2 separate regions of the Homo sapiens genome follow, and region 2 is linked to region 1. The links are contacts of gene promoters, found by promoter capture Hi-C in human tissues and cell types (Jung and others, 2019). All regions are on one chromosome and are shown on one strand. Each heading gives the region's core, a stretch centred on a gene start or on the middle of the fragment in contact. The rest is flanking DNA. Distances are from core to core; before and after follow the strand shown. Region 1 holds the start of ZNF383 (zinc finger protein 383). Region 2 overlaps ZNF790 (zinc finger protein 790).

Region 1 (6,462 bases), core at 1-2,500:
GACCAACACGGAGAAACCCCGTCTCTACTGAAAATACAAAATTAGCAGGGCGTGGTGACACACGCCTGTAATCCCAGCTACTAGGAAGGCTGAGGCAGGAGAATTGCTTGAACCGGGGAGGCGGAGGTTGCGGTGAGCCGAGATTGCGCCATTGCACTCCAGCCTGGGCAACAACAGCGAAACTCCGCCTTAAAACAAAACAAAACAAAAACAGAGAAGTGTAGGCTGTCATGAGCATTCTTGGTATCAGAGGGGTGAGGTCTCTCCTCTCGAGAATCTGTCCTGACCTCACAGGGAGAGCTGGAGTCACAAAGACAGTCACAAGCACCCCCTACCCAATGCTGCAGTCACCCAGCCACCATGGGGACCCACATAGACCTCCACAGGCACGCCTCACCCAAACAATAACACTATATATGGTCACACAATCATTGTCCCACATCTACCTTGAGGATAAGTTACACTAGCATATTTACAGACCCCTCAAACATAGCACCATTCAGAACCAGAGTGCTACAGATAGTCACAATACCACACGCACTACTGAGCCACACAAAGTTACAGTTCCCCCCTCCCCAGGACCCCTATTGAGCACTACACACAATCACACATTCAAAATAACACAATGACCACTAGGACACACATATCACCCCGGCACGATTACACGCACTTTCCAACCGCAGACACAGTGCTACATAAAGTTACATGGTCACACTCTCACATTCTCACGTTACTGGGTTATTTCTGGGTAGTAGATTTACTCAGTAAGGCATCCAGTACACTTAAGTGCTGCTAACAGTCATACAAACACAATTACACACACCCCTCAGACTAACACACAGTCACAGCCTCATCAGATTCTCTCCACACAAACACCCTCCACAAATGTCACGCAAAGTTACACAGCCACACACAATCACAGTCCCAACACGGGACACAGTCATACCTACACATACAGCCTTACATTGTTACAATTACACAACTACAACGAGGATATACAATCACACCCGCGCACACAGAGAGGCACAGTCACATAAGGTCACACTCACACACGGAAGCCCACGCCTCGCGCCCGCCTCCCCACCACCCCCTCTATCAGCCCGACCAACTCATACATGCCCGACACACTCATACATGCCCAACACTCCAGACCAGCCTGGTCAGTCCCTTCAAACTCCCATGCACGTACCTGCGGGCCCCAGCCGAGCCTGCAAGACCCAGGCCGCTCACCGCGCACTTCCCCTACCCTTGAGGCGGAGGGTCCAGCAGGCAAATGAAGGGGCTGCCCTGGACTCGCGGGGGCCTCTGGGAAATACAGTCCGGAGTAGGACCGCGCCGAGAAGATGGCGCCTGTTTTTTCGGGTTCTTGCAGCTGCACAGCTCGGGGACATCCCTGCTCCGCACTCCGAACCGCTACCCCGCGTCTCCGTGATCCAGACACAGGCTCAGAGTGAAACTGCCGTAGGACGCTGGCCCTGCACGCTGAAGACAATCTTCCTCCATGGTACCGGCCAACCCCAGGGAGTTCCCTGAGAAACAGGAAAAGGTCGCCAGCTTCGGGCCAGATGTTGACTAGAGCCGCAAGGATTTTTGGGAACTGTAGTCTAGAGCAGGAAGGGGTGAGGCGCTGGGGCAAGTGGAAGGAGGTCGCTTAAATGACTTCCTGCCCCAAGCCGACTCAGTGCAGAACGCACCCAGGACCCCGGACTGTACTAGGCGTTATAACGCTCTCTGAGAATGCTAGACTGACTAAATCGTCATTTTTGCCTTCATCCGTGGATAAGCCACATACTGTATGACTGCATTTATAGGAAATATTTAAAATAGTCAAATCTACGGAAAAGGAGTAAGTTAGAGTTTTTTAGGACTAGCAGGATTAGGGGGAACTGTGAGTGATTGGTAATAGCTAAAGGGTTCATTTTTGGGGTAATGCAAAGCTTCTTGAATTAGATAATGATGTTTGCACAACTCTGAATACACTAAAAGTGACTGAATGGTACACCATAAACGAGCTAATGTTATAGTTTGTAAATTATATTTGTGTGCATGTTTTTTAAAAATCAACTTTACTGAAGAATAATTTAGATACAATAAAATGCACTCATTTTAAGTGAACTGTTCGGTAAGCTTCAACGCATGTCTAAACCCTTGTCACCACCATCGTAATCAGGATATAGAATATTTTTTAAAATTAAAAAATTTTTAAGCATTTTAGTTAAATTTTTGTGGGTACATAGTAGTTGTATATGGGGTACATGAGATGTTTTGATACAGGCATGCAATGCGTAAGAATCATATCATGTAAAATAGGGTGTCTATCCCCTCAAGCATTTATCCTTAGTGTTACTGGATATAGAATTTTTTTTTTTTTTTTTTTGAGTTGGAGTCTAGCTGTCACCCAGGCTGGACTGCAGTGGCGAGATCTCGGCTCACTGCAAGTTCCGCCTCCCGGGTTCAAGCGATTCTCCTGCCTCAGCCTTCCGAGTAGCTGGTATTACAGGTGCCCGCCACCATGCCTGGCTAATTTTTGTATTTTTAGTAGAGACAGGGTTCGAGCTCACAGGCTGGTCTCGAACTCCCGACCTCGAACTTCTGACTTCGTGATCCGCTCGCCTCGGCCTCCCAAAGTGCTGAGATTACAAGCGTGAGCCACCGCGCCCGGCGGATATAGAATATTTTTATTCACCGCCCTCTGCCCCCCACATTGTTAAGTCAATCCCCACCTCCCAAACCCCACATCAGGCATCTATTGACTATTCTAAGGAATGAGCAGTAGTATCAAATTATGTTTTTAATTTGCATTTCCTGATGTCAATGAACTTAGCATACTTTCATATACTTATTTGCCATTCTTTTATCTTCTTTTGTGACATCTATTGAAAATATTCGGCTGGGCGCAGTGGCTCACGCCTGTAATCCTAGCACTTTGGGAGGCTGAGGCGGGCAGATCACCTGAGGTTGGGAGTTCGAGACCACCCTGACCAACGTGGAGAAACACCGTCTCTACTAAAAATACGAAATTGGCCAGGCGTGGCGGTGCATGCCTGTAATCCCTGCAGGAGAATCACTTGAACCCGGGAGGCAGAGGTTGCTGTGAGCTGAGATCACACTGTTGCACTCCAGCTAGGGCAACAAGAGCAAAACTGCATCTCAAAAAATAATAATAAATAAATAAATAAATAAAATTTTCTTATTTTAAAATTGGTTATTATTGAGTTGTAACAATTCTTTATATGTTTGGGTAAAAGTCCTTTGCCAAATATACATATTGCAAATTGCAAATATTCTCTCCCTGCCTGGGGCTTACCTTCTCAGTTTTTTTTTTTTTTTTTTTTTGAGACAGGGTCTTGCTCTGTTGCCTAGTCTGGAGTGCAGTGGTGTTAACATAGCTCACCACAGCCTTGACCTCCTGGGTTTAGTCGATCCTCCTGAGTAGCTGGGACTGCAGGTGTGCACCACCACCCCCAACTAATTTTCTTGTGTTTTGTGGAGATGGGGTCTCACTGTGTTATTACAGGTGTGAGTCACTGTGCCCAGCCCTCAGTTTCTTCATGATGTCTTTCAAAAAGCAGTTTTTACTTCTGATGAAATCCAATTTCTCATCTTTAAAATGTGCTTCATGCTTTCTGGTCTTTCTAACAATCTTTGACTCCTCTAGTGTTGTGAAGAATTTCTCCTATGTTTTATTCTAAAGGTTGTATAGTTTTAGTTTTTATTTTTGGTCTATCATCCACTTGAAGTTAGTTTTTGTGTATGTGAGGTAATGTTCAAAGTTATTATTTTCCAGATGGAAATTCAGTTGTTCTAACATCACATGTTAACAAAACTATCATTTTCCTCTTGAATGACCTCAACATCTAAAGTAGGCAGGATAATGTTCCCCCCAAAATACCCACATGCTAGTTCCTGGGACTTGTGAATATGCTATGTTACATGGCAAGTGGAATTAAATTAACAGGTAGAATTAAAGTTGCTAATCGGCTGACCTTAACATAGGGGAATTATACTGGATTGTCCAGTTAGACCCAATGTAATCACATGGGGTCTGAAATGAGGAAGAAGGCATAAAGTCAGTGTTGGAATTGTGTGCTGTGAGAAACACACGACCAGCCATTATTGGGTGTAAAGATGAAAGGAGCCCATGAGCTGAGGAATGCAGGCAGCTTCTCCAACTTGGAAAATGAAAAAAAACAAATTCTCCAGAGCCTCCAGAAAGGAATGCAGCTTGCAAACTTTTGATTTTAGAGCAGAAAAAACTCATTTCTTTTTTTTAATTTTTAATTTATTTTTTTAATTTTTATTTATTTATTTTGAGATGGGGTCTCCCTCTGTTGCCCAAGCTGGAGTGCAGTGGTGGGATCTCGGCTCACTGCAACGTCTGCCTCCTGGGTTCAAGTGATTCTCCTGCCTCAGCCTCCCTAGTAGCTGAGATTACAGGCACCCACCACCATGCCCGGCTAATTTTTCTTTCCTTTTTTTTTTTTTTTTTTTTTTTTTTTTTAAGTAGAGACAGGGTTTCATCATGTTGGCTAGGCTGGTCTTGAACTCCTGACCTCAAGTGATCTGCCTGCCTTGGCCTCCCGAAGTACTGGGATTACAGGTGTGAGCCACTGCACCCAGCATTTTTTTTTTTTTTTTTTTTTTTTAGAGACAAGGTCTTGCTCTGTCTCCCAGGCTGGAATGCAGAGGTATGATCACAGCTCACTGCAGCCTCATACTCCTGGACTTAAGCATCCTTCCGCCTAGGCCTTCTGAGTAGCTGGGACTATTGGTGTACACCACCACACCTGGCTAATTGAAAAAAAAATTTATAGAGAGAGGGTTTAGTTATGTTGCCCAGTCTAGTTTCAAACTCCGGGCCTCAAGTAATCCTCCCACCGAGGCCTCCCAAAGTGCTGGGATTACAGGCATGAGCCACCACAACAGCTGTGTCATCCCAACCCCTCTCTGGGCTTGATCACATAAAGAAGGCTTGCATTCCTCAGATAAAAGCCATTTATTTTCTTTTTCAACACTATGCGGAGTGAGATAAGCCAGACCAAAAGGACAAATATTGTATGAATCCACTTATATGAGGTGCCTAGAATAGGTGTATTCATAGAGACAGAAAGTAGAATTGAAGTTACATGAAGTTATATGAGGTACATGATAAAGCCTCTATACTTAAAACAGTGTGCTATTTGTGTGTGGTTAGAGAGACAGACAAAGGGAGGAGGATGGGAAATGGAGAAATAAACATCCATGGCCGGGCGCGGTGGCTCACGCCCAGCCCTTTGGGTGGCCGAGGTGGGTGGATCACCTGAGGTCAGGAGTTCGAGACCAGCCTGGCCAACATGATGAAACCCCATCTCTACTAAAAATACAAAAAATAAGCTGGGCATGGTGGCATGCGCCTGTCATCCCAGCTACTCAGGAGGCTGAGGCAGGAGAATTGCTTGAACCTGGGAGGCGGAGGTTGCAGTGAGCCGAGATTAAGCCACTGCACTCCAGCCTGGGCAACAGGAGCAAAACTCCGTCTCAAAAAAAGAAAGAAAGAAAGAAATTAACATCCCGGCCAGGCACGGTGGCTCACACCTGTAATCCCAGCACTTTGGGAGGCCAAGGCGGGTGAATCATGAGGTGAAGAGATCGAGACCATCCTGGCCAACATGATGAAACCCCGTCTCTACTAAAAATACAAAAATTAGCTGGGTGTGGTGGCACGCGCCTGTAGTCCCAGCTACTCGGGAGGCTGAGGCAGGAGAATCGCTTGAACCTGGGAGGCAGAGGTTGCAGTGAGCTGAGATTGTGCCACTGCGCTACAGCCTGGTGACAGAGTGAGACTTCATCTCAAAAAAAAAAGAAATTAACATCCACATAGATGCTTAGTATTTGATAAAGGTAGCAGCTCAAATCACCACAGTCACATCATAAAGTTTTATGCAGCCCATACACACACAGCAGAAAAAAAAAAAAACGAAGCTCTCTACGGAATGACATTAACTCTGGAATATATAAAAAATGGAAAGTATAGAACAGTGTAACATATAGTTCGTCTAAAAAAGAAAAGGAAATTAGATTAGATATAAGCATTTGTTTATATTCACTAAAAAAAGAAAAGATAGGAAAAAAGAAGTATTGGAAACGTGAACCAGAAACAATACCTATAGTGATAACCTATAGTGATTGGGGTGGTGGGGGGAGTGAGACTTGATATGTCTTTTTATACAGTTGCATAGGAAAAACAAACTGGTTTTAAAAATATATACTCTCACAACACTCAATACTTCCAGAATGTTTCGTTTTTAACACAAAATATGTGGAGTTTTTCTGACACCACTTCTCCAGCCCTCCCTACATGGGTGTCCTACAATTGAATTCAATTCTGACACTAACCTGAGTTAGCACAGACCTTACAGTTTAATTGCTCAGTCCCACAAGACTGCCCACCTCTTCAGATGCCAATGACAACTACTAGGTCAC
Region 2 (6,462 bases), core at 1,191-3,690, 390 kb after region 1:
TGGGACCACAGGCACATGCCGCTGCACTAGCTAGTTTATTCTTCATTTCTGATGTGACTTAGCCTATTTTCTCTTTCAGTCTTGAATTCCACTAACTCCCATCTATGGTCTATCTATTACTTTCTTCTCTCTCCTGAGATCGTATATTTTTGCTTGTGGTCTGCTTTTAGAGCTGCAATTGCATCATACTTTTTTTTTAATTCAGACTGAAATGTTGGGTGATGATTTTCATCTTCTCTGATTTTTTTAGTGAGTTTTTTTGTACATGGGGGATTTTGACACACTTTTAAAACTTTGTGTGTTTTTTGTTGTTGTTGTTGTTGTTGTTTTGAGATGGAGTCTTGCTCTGTTGCTAGGCTGAAGTGCAGTGGCGTGATCTTGGCTCACTGGAACCTCTGCCTCCCAGGTTCAAGTGATTCTCCTGCCTCAGCCTCCCAAGTAGCTGGCACTACAGGCACATGCCACCACACCTGGCTAATTTTTTGTATTTTTAGTAGAGACAGGGTTTCACCATGTTAGCCAGGATGGTCTCGATCTCCTGACCTCGTGATCCGCCCGCTTTGGCCTCCCAAAGTGCTGGGATTACAGGCGTGAGCCACTGCACCAGCCTAAAACTTTTATCTAACTATCTTACGCATGTTATATCTAATTTATATTTTGGAGAGGATGTAATAGATTTTCCTGGAATAGCTGTCACTGGTATTTTCATGTGAAAAAAGTGAATGGGGCAAGGGTAGTTTTTAAGGTTTTTTTGCTCAAGGGTTTCTTCCTCTGTTACCCCAGTAGAAGACAATTTTTTTAAAATTTGGTTCCCTTTGAATAGCCAGGCCTTCTTTACCATTCAGAAGCTCAACTGGTTCAGGAGGACTCCTATTATCAGCTCTGAGTTCACCCAGTGTCTTCTACTATAATTAAGGAATACAGCCAAGTCCCCAGCTCATTTTATGAGGCCAGTATTTCCCAGATACTGAAACGAGACAAAGTATATCTCATAAGAATATGGGTGTAAAAATCCTCAACAAGTAGTAGCAAACCAAATCCAGTAACATCTAAAATGAATTATATAACATGACTGAGTGGGATTTATCCCAGAAATGCAAGGTTGGCTCACCATCAAAAGTCAGTTAATGTGATACATCATATCAATAGAATAAAAAAACAAAAATCACACAATCATCTCAATAGATAGAGATAAGGCATTTGACCAGAGCCAATACCCTTTATGATTTTTTTTAAAACATACACATTCTACAAACTAGGAATAAAGAGGAATTCAACCTGATATCTAGGAAAAACCCACAGCCAACATCACACTTAATGGTAAAAGACTGGATGTCTTCCCTCTAAGATCAGGGACCAGACAAGGATCCCCACTTCTGTTTAACATTGTACTGGCAATTGGGCTAGGGCAAATGGGGAAGTAAAAGAAATAAAAGACACTGGAGAAAAGAACGGAACACAGCTAAGAGCATCTCTATTTGCAGATGGCATGATTTTCTATATAGAAAATAAAACTTATACTCTGAAAACTACAAAATAGATGATATTCAAACAAAAACTTTTACATGAATGTTCATTGCAGCATTTTAAAAATAATTGTCAGCCGGGCATGGTAGCTCAGGCCTGTAATCCCAGCACTTTGGGAGGCCGAGGCGGGCGGATCACCTGAGGTCGGGAATTTGAGACTAGCCTGACCAACATGAAGAAACCCCGTCTCTACTAAAAATACAAAATTAGCTGGGCATAGTGGTACATGCCTGTAATCCCAGCTACTCGGGAGGCTGAGGCAGGAGAGTCACTTGAACCCCAGAGGTGGAGGTTGTGGTGAGTCGAGATCGTGCCATTGCACTCCAGCCTGGGCAACAAGAGCGAAACTTCATCTCAAAAATAATAGTAATTGTCAAAAGGTGGAAACAACCCAAATGTCCATTAATAGACGAATGGGTAGACAAAAGGTGGTCTATTCATTTGCAGAGATATTATTCAGGCATAGCAAGGAATGAAGTACTGATTCATGCTACAATTTGGATAAACCTTGAGAACCTTATGCTACGTGAAAGAAGCCAGTAACAAGTCCACATATGTTATTCCATTCATATGAAAGTCCAGAATAGGAAAATCCATAGAGTCAGAAAGTAGATTAGTCATTATTTGAGGCTAAGTATGGGGCACATGTGGCAGTGGGGAAGCCAAGGAGTGATAGCCAAAGGGTTAGAGTTTCTTTTCGAAATGATGAAAATATTCTAACATTGACTGTGGTTGCACGTATTTGTGAATATACTAAGAACCATTGAATTGTTCACTGTAAATGGCTTAATTGTATGGTATGTGAATTATATTTCAATAAAGCTTTAAAAAAAAAATACAACCAATGTGTTTTGCCACCTTGAATCCCCCTGACATCTTCGGGCCTCCTTTTACCACCTCCTTTTGACATCATTCCTGCTCACAGAAACTTTCATTCAGGATATGGTCTACTCCCCATGGGAATGGATATTCCTCATTTGTTTTTCTTTGTAGCATCACTGTGGCTTCCACAGACATTGTTCTTTCATTTTCTTTTCACATCTCCAAATAATTTGGAATCTGTTCATTTTCTGTTTCCTGATGGTTGGGATTTACTTTGATTTTCTTGTTTCTGTCTACATGGTTTCCAGGAGGAGGAATATCAGGATTAGAATTAGTTTTTGGCTGGACATGGTGGCCTACACCTGTAATTCCAGCACTTTGGGAGGCCAAGGTGGGAAAGTATTTCTTGAGGCCAGGAGTTTGAGAACAGCCTGGGCAACATAGCGGACCCCGTCTCGACAAAAATAAAATAAATTAGCCAGGCACAGTGGTGCATTCCTGTAGTCCCACCCTATTCAGCAGACTGAGGTGGAAGGATCGCTTCAGCCTAGCAGTTTGAGGCAACAGTAAACTGTGATTGCACCACTCTACTCCAGCATGACTGACAGTTTGAGACACTGTCCCTAAAAATTTTTTTTTCCTTTTTTTTTTTTTTGAGAAGGGGTTTTGCTCTTGTTGCCCAGGCTGGAGTGCAATGGCACGATCTCAGCTCACCGCAACCTCCGCCTCCCAGGTTCAAGCAGTTCTCCTGCCTCAGCCTCCTGAGTAGCTGGGATTACAGGCATGTGCCACCATGCCCGGCTAATTTTATATTTTTAATTAAGACGAGGTTTGTCCATGTTGGTCAGGCTGATCTCGAACTCCCGACCTCAGGTGATCCGCCTGCCTCGGCCTCCCAAAGTGCTGGGATTACAGGCGTGAGCCACTGTGCTCAGCTAAAAAAAAGTTTTATTTAAAAGAACTAGTTTTTTCTTAAAACCGTGTAATAATCACTCTCAAGTACTTCATGTTCTCAAACACAAAATATATTTTAGTTCACAATTTATTCTCCAGCCCTTCACTCTTCTTGGAAAAGTGCTTAAAGTTCTCTATGCCCCTGAAGCTGTCTGTCTCCTAGGACCAATTCATACTACAGGCTTTACATGGAATTTTCATGAACTCCTCAGATTATGTATATCAGTCTTTATCCTCTCACACCAACTTTGCTGTATCTCTAATTAGAAACATTTTTAAACCTTACTTTAAAAATGCAGAATGCTTTCTTATTACCTCTGAAATATGGCCCAAACTCTATACCCTATTTTTTAGGGCTTTTCATAACAGGATCCCTGCTTTATACGTCTCCATCTGCCACTGTCTTTCCTCTCTGTGTTCCTTGAATGCACAAAAATATCTTTGCTTGATTGGCGCATGTTGTTTCCTCTGCTAGGAGATCCCCCTCACCTTGCCCTGTCTTCTCTGGTGAGCCCCTGTGGAGGAAAAGTTAAATATTAAATTTGAACTCAATTGAACATGGACACAAACAATGGTCACCAAGTCCTGGAACAGGTTGTGTGAGCCCCTTGAAGCGTTCATCCAGTGCTGTTTCGGAGAATTCTCTATTTCAATCTATTCCTATACATTAGTCATTGAAAAACAATAGACAATCGCAAAAACAGGTTGAACTTTTTGTGTTCCTTGAGCCCAGTCAGGAAGGGCCCTTGTGACTGGGCCTCATGCCAAACAACTTGTTACAAAAAGAGCTAAGCTCCCAGACTGCACCAAAGCTTCATGAGACCTCTCCTCGCCTGTGCACGGATGGGTGGCCGACTGTGGAGCCCAGGCTGTTGCTTCCCGGTCTGGTGGTGAATCCTCCATAGTCTGCTGGGTGTAGTGTCTGACTCTGGAGCCCAGGCTGTTGCTTCCCAGTCTGGTGGTGAATGCTTATAGTTTGGTAAGTGTATATATATATATATATATATATATATATATATATATGTGTGTGTGTGTGTGTGTGTGTGTATGTGTATATATATACACACACACACATATATACACACATACACACACAACACACATATATATCTATGTATGTACATATATTTTCCCTTCTCTTCCCATTGCAATTTGCTTATTATATCATTTGCTTATTATATCTGCATTGCCATTTATGTGGGATAAAGGTTGTTTACCCTTAAAGGTATTGTGTGTCTTTTCTTCTCCCCTCGCGCATTTCCCACACAGAACAGCCCCTCAAGAGTCAGCTGAAGTACCATTTCCTATAGGAAATTTTCTGTTAAAAACTAGTTTTGGTTTGGGCTCCTTAGAACTAGTTGGCTCCTTTCATAACCATGATTACCTTTATTTCCTACAGTATTGTAATTGCTGCTTACTTTTCTGACTGTGAATTCCTTGATAGTAGGTCTTGCAACTTATTTATCTGATTCCCTTGTGCTAAGTGCAAAGCTAGATTCAGAGAGGCATATATATATATAATTTTTATTATATATATAATTATAGATAATTATAAAATTATCTATATATAATTTTTTTTTTTTGAGACCGAGTCTCGCTGTGTCGCCAGGCTGGAGTGCAATGGTGCAATCTCGGCTCACTGCAACCTCCAACTCCTGGGTTCAAGCGATTCTCCTGCCTCAGCCTCCCGAATAGCTGGGATTACAGGGATGCGCCACCATGCCTGGCTAATTTTTGTATTTTTAGTAGAGACGGGGTTTCACCATGTCGGCCAAGATGGTCTTCATCTCCTGACCTCGTGATCTGCCCGCCTCGCCTCCCAAAGTGCTGGGATTACAGGCGAGAGCCACCACGCCCGGCCAATATATTTTTTTAATAAAAGTTCGTGCTTCACAACACTGACTACTCGCCCAATCCAGCCTTCCTTCCATCTTTGGGTTCCCTTCATGAAAAAGCCACCCTGATGCTCACTGTCAATGAAAACACAGGAGGCAGAGATCATGGGCTGCTCCTATAAGGGAAAGGCCCAGCTCATCCTTCACTCAATAAAATAAGAAATTCTGAAATCCAGAGGGTAGGATACAGTATTCAAAGTAACAAGCTTTGCATTCAGCAAACCTATGATATTTCCTAATAGTGAATTTGAGCAAGTGACCCATTTCCAGATGTTTTAAATGAGACAATTAACTGACATTCATAGGCGGCTTGAGGATAAATGTTAATGTAGGTATGTATGAATTTAGGGCAAGCCAGAATTGACTTATCTAGTAGTATCCTGATCCAGATCATGATTTTGGCATAAGTGATTCGACTGAAACTTCATCCTGCTTTTGTTGAATCTCTCTGGTTTTGGATAGGGCCAGGATTTCTTCAGGTTCCTTCTGACTTACCTCCAAGGAAGAAAATGGCATTTCCTATTTGTCCCTTTGAGAGCTCTGAGAAAGGCCTGACCTTGTGATTCTTTCCTTCTAGCTCTGCTTTCCCAGCACGCTGCCTCACCAAGAAAGAATCCAGAGAAGGACTGGTGGACTTGGAATGTTAAGTCATGGCCCATGTGAGTTGGAATTGCCTCTCTCCAAAAATATAACCCATTTATATCAAATCATGTGAATATTTTTATTGCTTATCCTTAAACTGCTTACCTGAATCACTATTGAGTGTCATAAGTAATGACTGTGAAACAGTCCAATGCTTTCCCTAGATATCCCTCTTTTCTCCAACCAGTATGACCAAATCTATCCACCAGGGCTTTCAGTTATCTCCTGTGTCCCAATCTGGCAGAGCACTGAAGAAGAGAAATACATTTCCTTAAGGGGAACAGTAAAGACTTTTCATTTCAAACCTGTGGCTTAACAAGAGGGGATAGAATAATTAAAGGGGACATACTACATAAAGGCTTTTATTTACTCTGTAGAATGGGATGTTTCATTTAATCAAGATGGGAGTTGGTGTTGGTTGGGATTCATTTAGGTATGTGGCACTTTGTGATGCTTTCCTTAGCAGATATGATGGGAGGTTGAGTTCAAAGAGATCTGGGATTTTCCAGGAAATTAATGAAAGGTTAATATCATTAACAATCCAGGGCTAGTTATTCCAGGCTGGTATAGCCTCTCAGTGGTATCGACAAAAAACTCATCTGATGACTTTCACAGTAATCAC

Evidence for each region. Contacts are between HindIII fragments. The study calls those that stand out against the background at their distance.
Region 2: a contact is called between a fragment that was not itself captured here and the fragment with the promoter of ZNF383 in region 1, in 1 of the 25 tissues and cell types used here (bladder).

The regions. Positions count from the first base shown.
Region 1 is chr19:37,213,002-37,219,463 of GRCh38, reverse strand. ZNF383 (zinc finger protein 383) reads right to left here and starts at 1,250. Exons shown (of 6, transcript NM_001387601.1): 1 at 1,190-1,250. RefSeq lists an enhancer at 1,135-1,624. The HindIII fragment of the contact is 10,545 bases long and covers 1-6,264 here.
Region 2 is chr19:36,825,006-36,831,467 of GRCh38, reverse strand. ZNF790 (zinc finger protein 790) reads left to right here. Exons shown (of 5, transcript NM_206894.4): 2 at 5,776-5,857. The coding sequence starts at 5,849. It overlaps ZNF790-AS1 (ZNF790 antisense RNA 1), which reads right to left. Exons shown (of 6, transcript NR_040027.1): 5 at 5,946-6,088; 6 at 3,357-3,818. Among named protein-coding and RNA genes, the nearest start is that of ZNF790, 10 kb to the left of the region's middle. The HindIII fragment of the contact is 4,640 bases long and covers 121-4,760 here.